3 separate regions of the Homo sapiens genome follow, and regions 1 and 2 are each linked to region 3. The links are contacts of gene promoters, found by promoter capture Hi-C in human tissues and cell types (Jung and others, 2019). All regions are on one chromosome and are shown on one strand. The core of a region is centred on a gene start or on the middle of the fragment in contact, and the rest is flanking DNA. Distances in the headings are between cores, read along the strand shown.

The links. The method cuts DNA at HindIII sites, captures the fragments that hold promoters and counts their contacts. A contact is called where the count stands out against the background at its distance.
Region 1: a contact is called between the fragment with the promoter of PROZ here and the fragment with the promoter of F7 in region 3, in 13 of the 25 tissues and cell types used here (H1 embryonic stem cells, IMR-90 fibroblasts, adrenal gland and 10 more).
Region 2: a contact is called between a fragment that was not itself captured here and the fragment with the promoter of F7 in region 3, in 1 of the 25 tissues and cell types used here (liver).

The regions. Positions count from the first base shown.
Region 1 is chr13:113,156,896-113,161,735 of GRCh38, reverse strand. PROZ (protein Z, vitamin K dependent plasma glycoprotein) reads right to left here and starts at 3,088. Exons shown (of 8, transcript NM_003891.3): 1 at 3,006-3,088; 2 at 1,559-1,722; 3 at 764-788. The coding sequence starts at 3,075. RefSeq lists enhancers at 1,874-2,451, 3,028-3,605. The HindIII fragment of the contact is 7,105 bases long and covers 1-4,840 here.
Region 2 is chr13:113,137,353-113,142,160 of GRCh38, reverse strand. It overlaps F10 (coagulation factor X), which reads right to left. Exons shown (of 8, transcript NM_000504.4): 3 at 3,680-3,704; 4 at 2,691-2,804; 5 at 1,111-1,242. It overlaps LOC124903215 (a long non-coding RNA gene), which reads left to right and starts at 2,804. Exons shown (of 2, transcript XR_007063879.1): 1 at 2,804-3,100; 2 at 4,280-4,593. The HindIII fragment of the contact is 4,492 bases long and covers 1-3,942 here.
Region 3 is chr13:113,104,002-113,108,593 of GRCh38, reverse strand. F7 (coagulation factor VII) reads right to left here and starts at 2,803. Exons shown (of 8, transcript NM_019616.4): 1 at 2,689-2,803. The coding sequence starts at 2,752. The HindIII fragment of the contact is 23,631 bases long and covers 1-4,592 here.

The DNA of each region.
Region 1 (4,840 bases), core at 1,839-4,338, 53 kb before region 3:
ACTGAGCCTGCTCATGCTGCTCCCCATGCCATCGCCTGGCCCCCAGGACGCTCCCCGCTCCGGATGTAAGGCCTGGCTGCCAGTGCCTCCCACTCTGCTGGGTGCCCTTTCTTCGTCCGCACGCGGTCCCCTCTGTCCCGCCCCATCAGCCCTTCTCCGGCCTTCCCTGCCTCTCCCGCTTCCTTCTGTGCCCAGTTGTCCCCGTGCTTGTCTGGTGGTGGCTGCAGCTCTTTGCTTACTCATTCCCAGGTGGGTCCTTACCCTGGCCTCCCCCAGCCCCGTGGGTCTCCATCTGTGTTACTTCTGTCCCATGCTCTTCTGCAGTTGCCCACCTAGAGCTCCTCCCTTGGGAGGAGTCTCCTAACCAAAGTCTCCATCGGGGCCATGACTTTCCAAAATTTGAGACGAGTTCTGACCCTGCTGCAGCATGAGGCTTCCCAGGAGCCCAGGAGCCAGGCGGCTGGAGGAGCTGCTCTGGGGGGGCCCTCCTGGCCTGTGGCCCATGTCCCAGAGTGCCAAGAAACTACCCAGACACTGGGCAAGACAAACCAGGCACTGCCTGTGGCCCTGGTGGCAGAGCCCGGGGGCTTCCTGACCTGGTCCTTGGGGAGAGTCGGAGCTGCCCTTCCCTGGAGAGACACCGTGGGTCCTGGAGCCAGAGGCTTGGCATCCGCTGAGCTGGGGTCGTGAAGCGTCCTAAGCCCACCCACGCACCTCATCCCGAGGAATTAATACTTCTGAGGAGACGAAGGAAACCACTTACCCTTATATCGTCTCCAGAATTCATCCTTTAGAGTTAAAACATAAAAATGTTACAAATGGGATATTTGTTTTTCTATATTCTTTCCTGTAGATGAACTTGAAGGTAAGAAAATGTTGATTTTATTCACTTAATAGGACAATAGTGGTTGAAACAATGCACAATTTTCCTGTTTTACAGCCTATTTGTTTATGTTAAATGTATAGTAACTAAATGTATCTGTAAGATATATTACTCAACATGTGCTTACCACCACCTATTTGAGGAAGGCCAGAGTCTATGACATGGCACAAACCCACCACCCACAGCCCCTAACGTGGCCCTTCCCTTCTAGGGCCAATCTCCACGCCACCCTCCACAAAAGCACATGATATAGAAGTCACATCACCTTTTCGCTTTTTATAAACCGAGTTGAATTTTAAAGATATATACCTCTGTAGGGAGTGGGGACACTTAGTTTGGGGTAGGAGTATCTAAAATTAGGAGAATTATTCAGACTTGAAGCCTAGAAAGAAAATGTATGCTGGGTGTCTGATCAGTGTGTGGGCCTTGCCTGACCTGAAGAAATGAGTCCAGTGGGCTCTGAGCTGACTTCCAGCCCCACTCACTGCTGTAGGGAAAGGTGGATTAAGTCGATTCTCTAAATTGTTTCCTCATCTGTAAAACTGGGATTGTGTCAACCTCATCGGTAAGTAAATAGGCTAATTAATTAAGCTTAATCTCTGAGAAATGATGCTCCCTGGGCCAGCAGAAGTCTAAATAATGAGGAGGCCTGTGGTTTGTGGTGGGGGTACATACAGTGACTACTTCATTTTCAAACACTTCTCTTGCTTCTTCATAGACACAGATTTCTTCATAACATTCTTTTTCCAAGTTTCCCTCGAAGAGTTCTTCCAGAAGATAGGAGCCCGCACGCTTCCACCTCACCAGAACGTCGTTTGCTTTGGAGGCCGGGAGAAATACTACAGACGAGACAAGAAGGCAGGTGACTGGGAGCACCGAGGGCCCTGCTTTCCAGAGCTGCCTGGCTTCCTCCCCGGCCGGCCGCCAGCCCCAGCCCCGTCCGTCTCCACAGGCTCTCAGCCTGCGAGGGCCTCAGGGCCACCCCGCTACTCCCTCCCCCGAGGTAGGCAAGCACTTCATCCTCTGGGCGAATGGATCAGCCCCAGGATCAGTGCGGATACACTAAGGTTCTGCAGAGAGGCCACGGGCCTCAGTCAGGAAAGTGGAGGAGGGAGGGCTCCAACTGGGTTTTGGGTCTGAGTGCGAAGGAAGGCTGAGCTGGGGTCAAAGGTCCCCGTACTGAGAACTGGGGACCAAGAGCCATCAGCTCCTGTGCTGCCTCTGTGCGCAGCATTTAACATCTTGATAAAACACATAAAGAAGAAACTTATACATTGCAGCAGGCTCTGCGATTTCCAGGAGGAGAAGGCAAATGAGTTGACCCGCGGCAGTGGTCTCTGGAGCCTCTTCCCACCTGAGGGTCCCAAAGCATGTTCTCTCCCTCTCCGGGAGGGTCAAAGCCCAGGCCCTTCCCATCCTCCCTCCTTTTCTCTCGGTGCTGAGGGTTACAGCAGGGGGGGCTCAGCTAAGTCCGGCTACGGTAAGTGCTGGGCAGGGCAGGGCGGGGGGATCACCCTCTCAGGGTGGGAGACCATGGGGCCAGCGGGAGACCATGGGGCCAGCGGGGATGCTGGGTGTTTTGACTTGCAGCTTTCCTGGACGCCTGTGCAGGCAGAGTCAGAATGGAGTCCATGTCGTTCCTTCAGTGAAGTGGCTGGTGGTAGAAGGGTGGCAGGCAGGCAGGGTGGCTGCTCCCTGGCTATGTCTCCTGACTCAAGACTGGGCATTCCTGGCTGGCCTGGCCAAGGCTCTCTCTGCCCACATTGCAGTCTGGGCTCAGCCTGCCCCACCCCCTCCCCTCGTCCAATGCCCAACCCAGGCCTCCCCCCACTCCTCCCCCTTTCCCCCTCCCCTCTCCCCGGCCTTTCCCGGCTGAATCCCCTGCACACAGGCTTCTTTCCATTTGGGCATCTCTTGGGAGGACCCCAAGTGACACTATCATGTCCCAAATACTTGTCACCAAATGATAAAGATCCAAACAGCTTTTTCAGGGGAATTAAGACTAGTCTGGGCACTCAGGGCTCCTCTGGCTCCTGGAAAAAGCCTCATCTACAAATCCACCATGGACCGAGTCAAGAAAGACACAGCACAGGCACAACAGACAGGTAAGCCAGATGCCTACCTGAGGGCTCCACACGATGGAGGGCGAGGACCAGGACCAGGCCCTGGAGCAGTGGGACGCAGCCTGCCATTCCCACCCGGAGCGCTGGGACAGGGCTACAAACACAGCCAAAGTCCAGGCTGGGGGAGGTGCCGGCAGCAGGAGCCTCGGGGCACGACCTGTGCAGCTGTGTGCTTCCCTCCTGACGTTTTCTGTTTGAGGCCAGGCAGAGAAATGAACGGTGAAGGCTCAGAGGACCCTGGGAGATATTTAGGGAGACAGAGAACAGAAGGTAAAGGCAGCAGGTGCAAGGTGGAAGGTGGCACCCATGCCCGTGTGTGGTCAATGGAGGTGAGATAGGCCCTGGGGACACAGCACTGGGCGGGACAGACAAAGTCACATGCAGCTTACGTTCTAGGTGTGTGTGGAATACACAGAAAAGAACGAGGGAAAGAGACAGGAGGGAGTGAGGGAGGGAAAGCAGGAGGATGGAAAGAAGGAAGGGGAGAAAAGGAAGGGAGGGAGGGAGGAGGGAGAAAGCGGGGAAGGGCCAAATAGTGTCTGTCACTACAGCTCAGCACCATTGTAGCAGAGGCAGCATAGACAATCATGAATGAACACTTGGCTGTGTGCCAATAAAGCTTTATTTATAAGAGCTATTAAGGGGCCAGATTTGGCCCCAGGGTTGTCGTTTGCTGCTTTCAGATGTAGGCCCTGTGTATTAGTCCCTTCTTACACTGTTATGAAGAAATAGCCAAGACTGGGTAATTTAAGAAAAGAGGTTTAGTTGACTCCCAGTTCCACATGGCTGGGGAGGCCTCAGGAAACTTATAATTATGGCAGAAGGCACCTCTTCACAGGGTGGCAGCAGAGAGAATGACTGAAGCAGGGGAAATGCCAGATCCTTATAAAACCATCAAATCTCTTGAGACTCACTCACTATCCCAAGAATAGCATGGTGGAAACCACCCCCATGATTCAATTACCTCCCACCGGGTCCCTCCCAGGACACGTGGGGACTATGGGGATTACAATTCAAGATAAGATTTCGGTGGGGACACAGCCAAACCATATCAGCCCTTGAAGCCTGAGGTAAGAACCTGGTGTTTCATTTTCACTGTGTTGGGAAGATATTGGAGGGAACAGGAATTGACATGGAAAGATTTGTGCTCTGAAGGGATCACTGGGCTGCTGTGTGGAGAACAGAACATTCCAGAGAAGTCAAAAGGGAGGCTGCCGGCTAGTCCAGGAGGGGGTGAGGGTGCAGCCATGCAGCAGGAAGCACGTTTGCAGTCTGGATGCTTCAGGAAGGGAAAGCTGATGGGATTCATGATGAATTGTGTCGGGCAGCACGGCTCCAAGGTTTGGGCTGAGCGATTGGGAGGATGGCAGTGCGTGTGCTGAGACGGCCAAGCTCCAGGAGGGCAGAGGGAAGCGAGGTTTGGCAAATTTGAGGTGTCTGTGGGATGTCCAGGTGGAGACAGGAGTGGGCATCCGAGAAGCTGGGACTCACAGTGGAGATTCAGGTGGTAACAGATGAAATGACAGCATTGTCAGCATATAGATATTGTTCGATTGAATGACACTCAAAGGTGGCAAAACTCAATGAAAGGATTCTAAATACAATTTTGTTAAAGTGGGAACAGAAGAAAACTAAGAAGCTGACACCCTTGATTAAGAGGGCATGCCCGCAAATACACTGAAGTTGTGAAGTTTGCTTTAAAAAGCTGGGAAAAGAAAATAAAGTTTATCTTTAGTGAGTGAGTTAAAATAATTTGAAAGCCAGAAGTTGATTGTATAGGATAGCTCTTGGGTGAATTGCACCAGCCTGGCAATCTACGTGGCCTTCACTTAAG
Region 2 (4,808 bases), core at 447-2,946, 35 kb before region 3:
TTAAGCTTGAATGTCATTGCCAGTAGCAAGGTCAGCCACAGTGTCTTTCACTTGCTGAGATGTTTCAGGCACATAATTGAAGCAGCGCTTGAAGGATGCATATGGAACCCGGTCTTTTCGTGATCACTCATCTTTGGAAGTAAATTGTTTTCGGTAAGAAGGATATGAAAGGAAGAGTGACAGAACACTCGGGAGTAACCTGTGTCTGGAGGGGACAGTCATGGTAGCCGGGGGCAGAACACGGTCTGGGGGCTGAGCCGCACCTGAAGCCGGAAGGTGAGCTGGGTCACCAGGCTCTTGAAAAGGCGGGCCTGGAACTCTGCCCTTCGAATATGCCCCCGGGTGAGGCCAACGCTGCGGGTCGGGCCAGCTATGAGTGGGAGTGGGGTTGCTGTGCAAGGTGCAGCTGTGACGCCTAGGCCCCGCCTTCGAGGGCCTCATGTGTGCTGGCCGTGTGGAAGTGCCGGCAGCCAGGCAAGCCCAGCGTAGGCAATGCCCACGGGGTCAGGACAGGGAGGCTCGTCCCCACCCTGCCCAGTCCCCTGCCTGTCCTGTGCTCACTGCCCTCTGGCCGCCTGTTGTCCACATTCATCAAGGAAAAGAAAAACTACGTTCAATGAACACTGGTCCTGGTAAAAGGAGCTCAGAGCCTGAGCGTCCCCTGACTCCTATCCCAGCCCCGCACCTTAGCTCCAGTTCCTCGGGCCAGCTCTGCCCTTTGCCTGCCCTGGTGCTTTGAGCCCTTGCACTGGATCCCCCCACAGTCCCAATGCAGACTGAGGGCCTGCGGTGGGCCAGGCATCATGCAAAGTGCTCCAGGGATCACCCAAGCAGTCAGGCAATAGTGTTGGTCCCATTTGTCAGATGGGGAAGCTGAGGTTAAACAGCAGATCTGGCTTACAGAAATAATGGGTCTGTTTCCAAACCTCATGGTCTTCATGTTTGAACCACCTGGGCCCGGAGCCCAGGGCTCAGTCCTGTCCTCTTGGTGTCACTGTTACCTGCCAGGCCCGCCCAGAACATGCCTGTGTCCCCACCCCCTGGCACGGGCTTGTCCTCCCTGGCCCGGCCCAGCGGCAGCGGGTGGCTGTGGCCCAACGTGCCTCCTACCTGTGGGAATGCAGGCCTTGCCGTTGTCAGCCAGGGTGTACCCGCGGGCGCAGGAGCACACCACAGAGTTCTGTTCCTCGTGGCAGAACTGGTCACAGTCCCCGTTGTCCAGGCTGCAGAGCTTCCGTGTGACTGCAAAGGAGAGGCACGTTGGCTCTGGGGACAGCTGGAGAAATGGAGGCTGGGCTGGCCCAAGGGTGCCAGCTACATCCACTTGCCTGTCAGCCACAAAGCGGCCATTGGGTTGAGCAAAGGGCCAGAGCCAGGCGACAGGTACACTTGCCTTGAAGGGCAACCTCACGGGTCACGGGGAGCTCATGGTGCAGTGCCCGGTGTAGCCAGAAGCCAGGCTCCAGGTACCTGCCCCTCACACCTCCGGGATGGCCGGTACCCCCTGCCCCAGCAGCACTCACATTACGGTCACTCCACATCCCTCTGTGTGGCTTTTGATGAAAAAGTAATCACAGTGCAAAGATCAACATGCCTGAAATTTTAGAAAATGTGCATAATAGCCCTGGGAGCCTGAACAGGGTTATGCCTCATAAGTTACCAAATGGTGTTCCAGGGAGGCGACTGCGGACTTGGAATGGAATGATGCGTAATTGATATTCTCATCAGGGAAAACTCAAAAGTAATCCAATCTAAGAACACAGTCTAAAGATGATCAATTAGGCCGGCGCTGTGCCTCACGCCTGTAATCCCAGCACTTTGGGAGGTCGAAGCGGGCGGATCACCAGGTCAGGAGATCGAGACCATCCTGGCTAACACGGTGAAACCCCGTCTCCACTAAAAAATTAAAAAAAAAAAAAATTAGCCGGGACTGGTGGCCGGGGCCTATAGTCCCAGCTACTTGGGAGGCTGAGGCAGGAGAATGGCGTGAACCTGGCAGGCGGAGCTTGCGGTGAGCTGAGATCGTGCCACTGCACTCTAGCCTGGGCCACAGAGCGAGACTCCATCTCAAAAAAAAAAAAAAAAAAGATGATCAATTAAGTACTTTAAAAGAAATGCAAATCTTTTTCCTTAGGGAAATTGATCTAACAGTAGCCTAACTTTTTATTTAAAACTTAATCACCACATTAGAGAAAGCACTTAGTGATTTTTCCACGTAGAACTAATTAAATGTATCAAATTTTTATAATTGGCCAATCACAAATATTCACAAATATTGACACCTGCATCCATACACATAAATAAGAGGTGATTTAGAATCACTGCACAGGGTCACAAGGAGCAGGAATAACAGGGCAATGCACTTGGCCCCAAGGAAAACAGAGAGTCCACTCCTGTTTACACATGAATGGATCACACGCTTCATCAATGTTCTACAGTCTCTCTCGGAGGAGCAGAGAAGTGACTGTGTCTCTCTCATCATGCCCCCAAACCGAATCGTTTGGGGGACATATTGGGGCTTTTTTTTCTATTGCTATAGTGGCACAGTATAATAGGTATAATAGAGCCCAGACTTTGTAAATCAGAAATGACTTAAGATTGTTTCATTAGGCGTTTTCACTTCTTCCCCCGCCCACCTGCCACTCTTCAGGGGCATCTGATCTGAAGGTATACCAAGCAGAGGAACCTACATAATTCACAGTTTTTGCCTTCGAATCCTTCTAAACAGGTGCAGGTGTATTCCCCGAGGCCGTCTTTACATTTGCCCTGGTTCTGGCAAGGACTGGTCTCACACTGGTCGCCATCTGCAAAGAGAGGATTTCGAAACTGGAGTCTGCAAGCTGTTTCCGGCATCATGGAAACAGTTTTGCTGTGCTAACCTTGGCCCTGCCGTTCAGATAACTGGAAGAGTCTTCCGGTTTCTCTGTAAACAACTCCCCCTCTTTGGACTTTATTTGATCCACCCCCTTTTGTGGCCATGTGTACGTGATGCCTTTATCTAGGTGGATCACCGGCCCAGCTTTTTGATTTTTGCCGGTGTTTTGCAGTGTGTTTACAGTCAGAGGTGACCACAGGGACCAACTGGAAGGATGGAGGAAAGGTGAGAGCCTGATGCTCATTTCTGGGCTGGGCCTTGACGGGAGAGGAGGTTAGGGTTCCTCTTTCCAAATCATCCTGGGGCAAAAGGAGAAGGCAAACACTAACACGGGGCTTCCCATTTCTTGGAGGATTTACACAATCTCATTTAGAGATAGGCCCAGTTGTCATTTTGAGAAATGTGAATACTGTTACCAGGTAGTCATGACTGAGGCCACTTCAGATGCTATTAAGCATTAAATCAAGGTGGTTACCTTAGTCGGGAATCTAATCTTTCAGACTCTGTTTTTTGCTTTTACCGAATACACTTTTATTTAAGAAAAGTTATCATGGAATTTGGTATCCTCAAATGAGAATGAACTGATTTAAATATATATCTCTAACTCAATAACAAAACTAGGATTAGTATAAAATTACTCTAAAAACTCTTTTACAATAACTATTATGGAAACACCCTGAGGGAAAAAGTCTTAAATGAGTAAAATGAGAACAAAAGCAGAAAGGAAATTCAGGAACTATTTTCAAAATTCAAATATCCTGATGAACCCCTCTCACTGAAGGTTAAAACAGAAAAAATACTGACCTTTGTATTTATTCCAGAATTCATTCTAAAAGGAAAAAAGAAATTTAAAAATATATTAGGGAAAACAGAGACATTTTATACCAATAACAACCATAATTAAGTGACTCAAGCTGAATAGGATATTTTCCCCAATGGAAGTCACTTTTAGGAATGAATTGTTCTAGAACTATTCAATCTAAAGAGGAAAGCTATTCAGATCTTCTGCATCTGTGAAGATGTGGCTTCAGTCATCTTAAATGAACCATCTTTGTTGAATATTGAAAATATTTTCAAGTTAATTACCTAGAAACAGGTTGCACCAAGAATGGCTTGCTCTGTTTGCTACTCCCGAGCTGGTCAATGGATGGTTTTTAGTTGCTATGCCTGAGTTAACATTCAGACAAGGGTCACGTGCTTGTCAATAGTCATTACGTTAGCTGAAAAATATTCATTGCTGATTAGTTTAAAACAGGTCATCAAGAGCCTAGATTACGCTAAAAAATGTCCACAGGCTTATTGTTTTTTAACTCTCTACAGTTGGTTGAATAGTGCCCTCCCTGCTAATTCAGGTCCACCTGCAGCCTCAGAATAGAACCTTAATTGGAAATCGGGTCTTTGCAGATGTTAACTAAGCCAAGGCTGTAGAAGAGATCATGCTGGGTCAGTGTGGGCCCTAAATAAAGGAGAAAGTCCTTATAAGAGACAGAAAAAGTCACACAGAGGCACAGAGAGAGAAGGCCATGCGAAGATGAAAGCAGAGACAGGAGCGACGCGTCCGCAGCCCAAGGATGCCCATGATTGCCGGGTGCTCCTGGAAGCGAGCAGAGAGCCTGGGACAGAGACTCTCCCAGAGCCTCCAGAAGGAACCAACACTGCTGACACCCTAATTTCAGACTTGTCTCCAAAGCTGCGACAATAAATCCCTGTTATTTTAAGGCGTTTGTAGTGCTTTGTTATGGTTGCCCTAGGAAGCAAATACACTATCTTCTTACTTTTTTACTTTTAAAATTCTCACACAGCAAAACCAATGTTTTGGTGTACACTTCTATGAATTTCAACACATGGAGAGACTTCTGTAGCCACCAGCATCATCAGGATGCAGTACAGGTCCATCCTTCCCCCCCAAATACCCCATGCCATCTCCCCCACC
Region 3 (4,592 bases), core at 1,554-4,053:
CACCCACACTCCCGGGACACCCACTCCCCCGGGACACCCACACTCCCGGGACACCCACGCCCCCGGGACACCCACGCTCCCGGGACACCCTCGCCTCCGGGACACCCACGCTCCTGGGACACCCTCGCCTCCGGAACACCCACACTCCCGGGACACCCACTCCCCCGGGACACCCACACTCCCGGGACACCCACACCCCCGGGACACCCACACCCCCGGGACACCCACACTCCCGGGACACCCTCGCCTCCGGAACACCCACACTCCCGGGACACCCTCGCCTCCGGAACACCCACACTCCCGGGACACCCACAACCCCCGGGACACCCACGCCCCCGGGACACCCACACTCCCGGGACACCCTCGCCTCCGGAACACCCACACTCCCGGGACACCCTCGCCTCCGGAACACCCACACTCCCGGGACACCCACGCCCCTGGGACACCCACACTCCCGGGACACCCTCGCCTCCGGAACACCCACACTCCCGGGACACCCTCACCTCCGGAACACCCACACTCCCGGGACACCCACGCCCCCGGGACACCCACACTCCCGGGACACCCTCGCCTCCGGAACACCCACACTCCCGGGACACCCTCACCTCCGGAACACCCACACTCCCGGGACACCCACGCCCCCGGGACACCCACACCCCCGGGACACCCACGCCCCTGGGACACTCACACTTCTGGGATACCCTCGCCTCCGGAACACCCACGCCCCCGGGACACCCACGCCCCCGGGACACCCACGCCCCCGGGACACGCACACTCCCGGGACACCCTCGCCTCCGGAACACCCACACTCCCGGGACACCCACACTCCCGGGACACCCACGCCCCCGGGACACCCACACTCCCGGGACACCCACGCCCCCGGGACACCCACACTCCCGGGACACCCACGCCCCCGGGACACCCACGCTCCCGGGACACCCACGCCCCCGGGACACCCACACTCCCGGGACACCCTCGCCTCCGGGACACCCACACTCCCGGGACACCCACTCCCCCGGGACACCCACACTCCCGGGACACCCTCGCCTCCGGGACACCCACACTCCCGGGACACCCACTCCCCCGGGACACCCACACTCCCGGGACACCCACGCCCCCGGGACACCCACACTCCCGGGACACCCTCGCCTCCGGGACACCCACACTCCCGGGACACCCACTCCCCCGGGACACCCACACTCCCGGGACACCCTCGCCTCCGGGACACCCACACTCCCGGGACACCCACGCCCCCGGGACACCCACACTCCCGGGACACCCACGCCCCCGGGACACCCACACTCCTGGGACACCCACGCCCCCGGGACACCCACACTCCCGGGACACCCACACCCTTGGAGGCTGGTGTGAGCAGAGCCGGTGACCGCCCTGGGGTGAAAGCAGATTTGCATCAGAAAAGCTCTCAAGAACTGAGGAAAACCTGATGAAGAACACACGATTATCTGGAAGGAACAGAATGGAGCAAAGAAGATAAAATCGCCTGCACCCCAGTCCCAGGGAAGGCCAAGCTGGAGCGGTCACTTCCTCTCGAGCAGGGAACACCCTCCTTGGGGGGCACTGCAGTAGCCACCCCGCGGGCTGGCTCTTTGCCATGGGAGGGGAAGGAGGTGATGTTGGCCCCCACTGGGCCCCAGGACAAAACCAGTGGCAGTCCCTGCTCACCTCTGTGAGGCCCCGGCTTCCACGGCATGTCCCGTGTTTCTCCTCCTGAGGCCTTAGCGACCCCGCCTGGGGCAGGAAGGTGGCCGGGGTCATAAGGCCATGCTGTGAGCTAGGGCTGCAGCCCCACATCCCAGGCACTGTCCCTCACAGCCCACCCCCCACTCGCCATCCCCACACGCCATCCCCACGCCCCACTAGCCATCCTCACGCCACACCCCCTACTCGCCATCCCCATGCCCCACTCACCATTCCCAGGCCCCAGCCCCACTCGCCATCCCCACCCCCCCATGCCCCATCCTCTGCACCCCACACGCCCTTTCCATGCCCCATCCCCCACACCCCACATGCCCCATCCCCGACACCCCACACACCCCATCCCCCACACCTCCATGCCCCATCCCCTGCACCCCACACGCCCTTTCCATGCCCCATCCCCCACACCCCACACACTTTCCCACACCTCACCCCCACACCCCATGCCCCACATGCTGTTTCCCAGGCCCCACCCCCCCACGGCCCATCCCCCACACCCCACACGCCATCCCCACCCCCGATCCTCCACACCCCATCCCCTACGCCCCACATGCCGTTTCCCACACCCCATCCCCCATGCCCCAGGCGCCATCCCCCACGCACCGTCCCCTACCTGTGCTCCCCAGCCTGGGAGCACCCTGTGCGCACTTCCTGCACTCTGAGAGGCCCCAGACTCCCTGCGCTTGTCCGACCTCACAGGCAGGGGCCCATGGGGGCCAGGAAAGCACCACCCACTCCTAAAGTTCTTTGAAAAATAATCCCGCCAAAGCCTGGGCCACCAAGAAGGGCCTCCCCTCCTGTGCCTGGATGCTGGTTTCTAGAAGGAAAGAAATTGAACAGGAGCCGCCAGAAAACCCTCCTGGTGGATGGGGGTGTCCGGAGCAAGGGCGGGGTTTGGGAAGCCCGGGCTGGCTCCTGGATTTGCCCACTGCCCTTCCACCAAGTTTATGGAGAAAACCTCCCCGGACGCACCTGCAGCCAGGCAGCCCTGAAGCCCAAGCAGAAGGCAGAGGAGCCTGAGGGCCTGGGAGACCATGATGAAATCTCTGCAGTGCTGCCCCTGCCTGTTGACATTCCCCATGGGACTGACGGGCAAAGTTCTCTGCCTCCAAGGGTGACAGAGGGATGGGGGAGGGGAGGACACAGGCGTCCTCTGAACACCCCAGCTGAGAGCTGCACCTGGCCGGCCAGTGGCCATGCATCCCCTGCTGCCCAGCCACTGAGCTCAAGTGGGGGGGACAGGAGAAAGGTCAGGTGACCCCAGCTGTGCTGCAGAGCGGACGGTTTTGTTGCCAGCGTGCAGGTGTTAAGGTGTGTGTGGCACCAACACTTCAAATACGATCTAGAATTCCAAACCCCTAATGTAAGTTGGGAAACAGATTTAAACTGCAGATGAAAACTTGTCCCATAGCAATCATGCGAGTCAAATCTCAAGACTGTATCTTGGGTGTGGATGTAAATATTTGAAGAGAGCCTCCAGACCAGGCCAGCTAGGCCGTTGCCTGCAAGGGAGGCTGGTTTCTTAGGTGAGCCACAGAGCCTCACTGAGAAGTGCCGGGAATAGGATCATTCTGGCCCTGAGCTGGGCACCCCCACTCCGTTTTGACTGCAGGCAGCACCCCCATTCTCCAGCGGTCCACATCTTACGTCTTTTTGTTTGTTTTGTTTTGTTTGTTTGAGACAGAGTCTTGCTCTGTTGCCAGGCTGGAGAGTGCACTGGTGCAATCTCACTGCAACCTCCACCTCCCGGGTTCAAGTGATTCTTGTGCCTCAGCCTCCTGAGTAGCTGGGACCACAGGTGCACGTCACCATGCCTGGCTAATTTATATATATATATTTTTTTTTTTTAGCAGAGATGGGGTTTCACCGTGTTGACCAGGCTGGTTTCGAACTCCTGACCTCAAGTGATCCACATGCCTCAGCCTCCCAAAGTGCTGGGATTACAGGCGTGAGCCACTGTGCCCGGCTGGCGGCAGTCCACGTCATTTCTACCTGCTGTCATGGGCCCAAGCCACAAGCTGTGGTGACTAACCACCCCAGGTTGCCCAGGGACTGAGGGTTCTCAGAATGTGGAACTTTCCATCCCAAAAACACTGGGGTAGACGGTCATCCAAGCCTCCTGGGTTGCCCAGCAGGCCTGTCTGACCCCTCAAGCAGGGAGTATCCTCCATGTGAACAGTTGCATTGCTGATGACTTCTTTGGAAGCTGATGTCCAGTTCTTTTTACGGCTGGAGGGAGGGAGGTGATTCCTTCCCAACAGCCAAGTCTTAGCTCAGGGGTGCCTTTCAAAGCAGCCCCCAGCACCCCCAAAGCCTCCCTGCTTGCTGCTGACCTGCATCTCAGTCCAGAGAGCAGAGCACTTGCTGAGGGGCCGACAGGGCATGTTTTCTCTTCCACCCAGCACAGCTGAAGCCCATCTGTGCCCCTCCATGATATCGATCCCAGGGAGATCGCTTACAAAGTAGCTGCTCCGTCTGGAATAAAGCTCACGTCCAGCTCAAATCTGGTCCCCGCGGCTCTCGGCCAGCACAGCCCAAGGTAATTTCAGGACGTGGAGGGGAGGGGGCCATATCTAAACCCTACCCCTTTCCCACCTGAGAGTAGATGGCTGGCTGGTCTTAGGGTACCCTTCCCCTTTGGGGCTCCAGGTCAGAGGTCCTCAACCCTCTCTGGGCAGCAGAATGACCTGGGGAACCTCAAGCGCCAAAACCCCCTGAGAGATTCAGTGGCTCATGGCCTCGGGGCTGGTGAAGCTCTTCAGGTGATGGACCCTCACCTGCATGCAGCCCTCTCTGTGCGGGCAGGCGGGAGGGGGCAGGAACCGGGCTATCTGGCTGGGCTCTCTGCCCGTCTCACTGCTGGCCAGGGCGGCTGC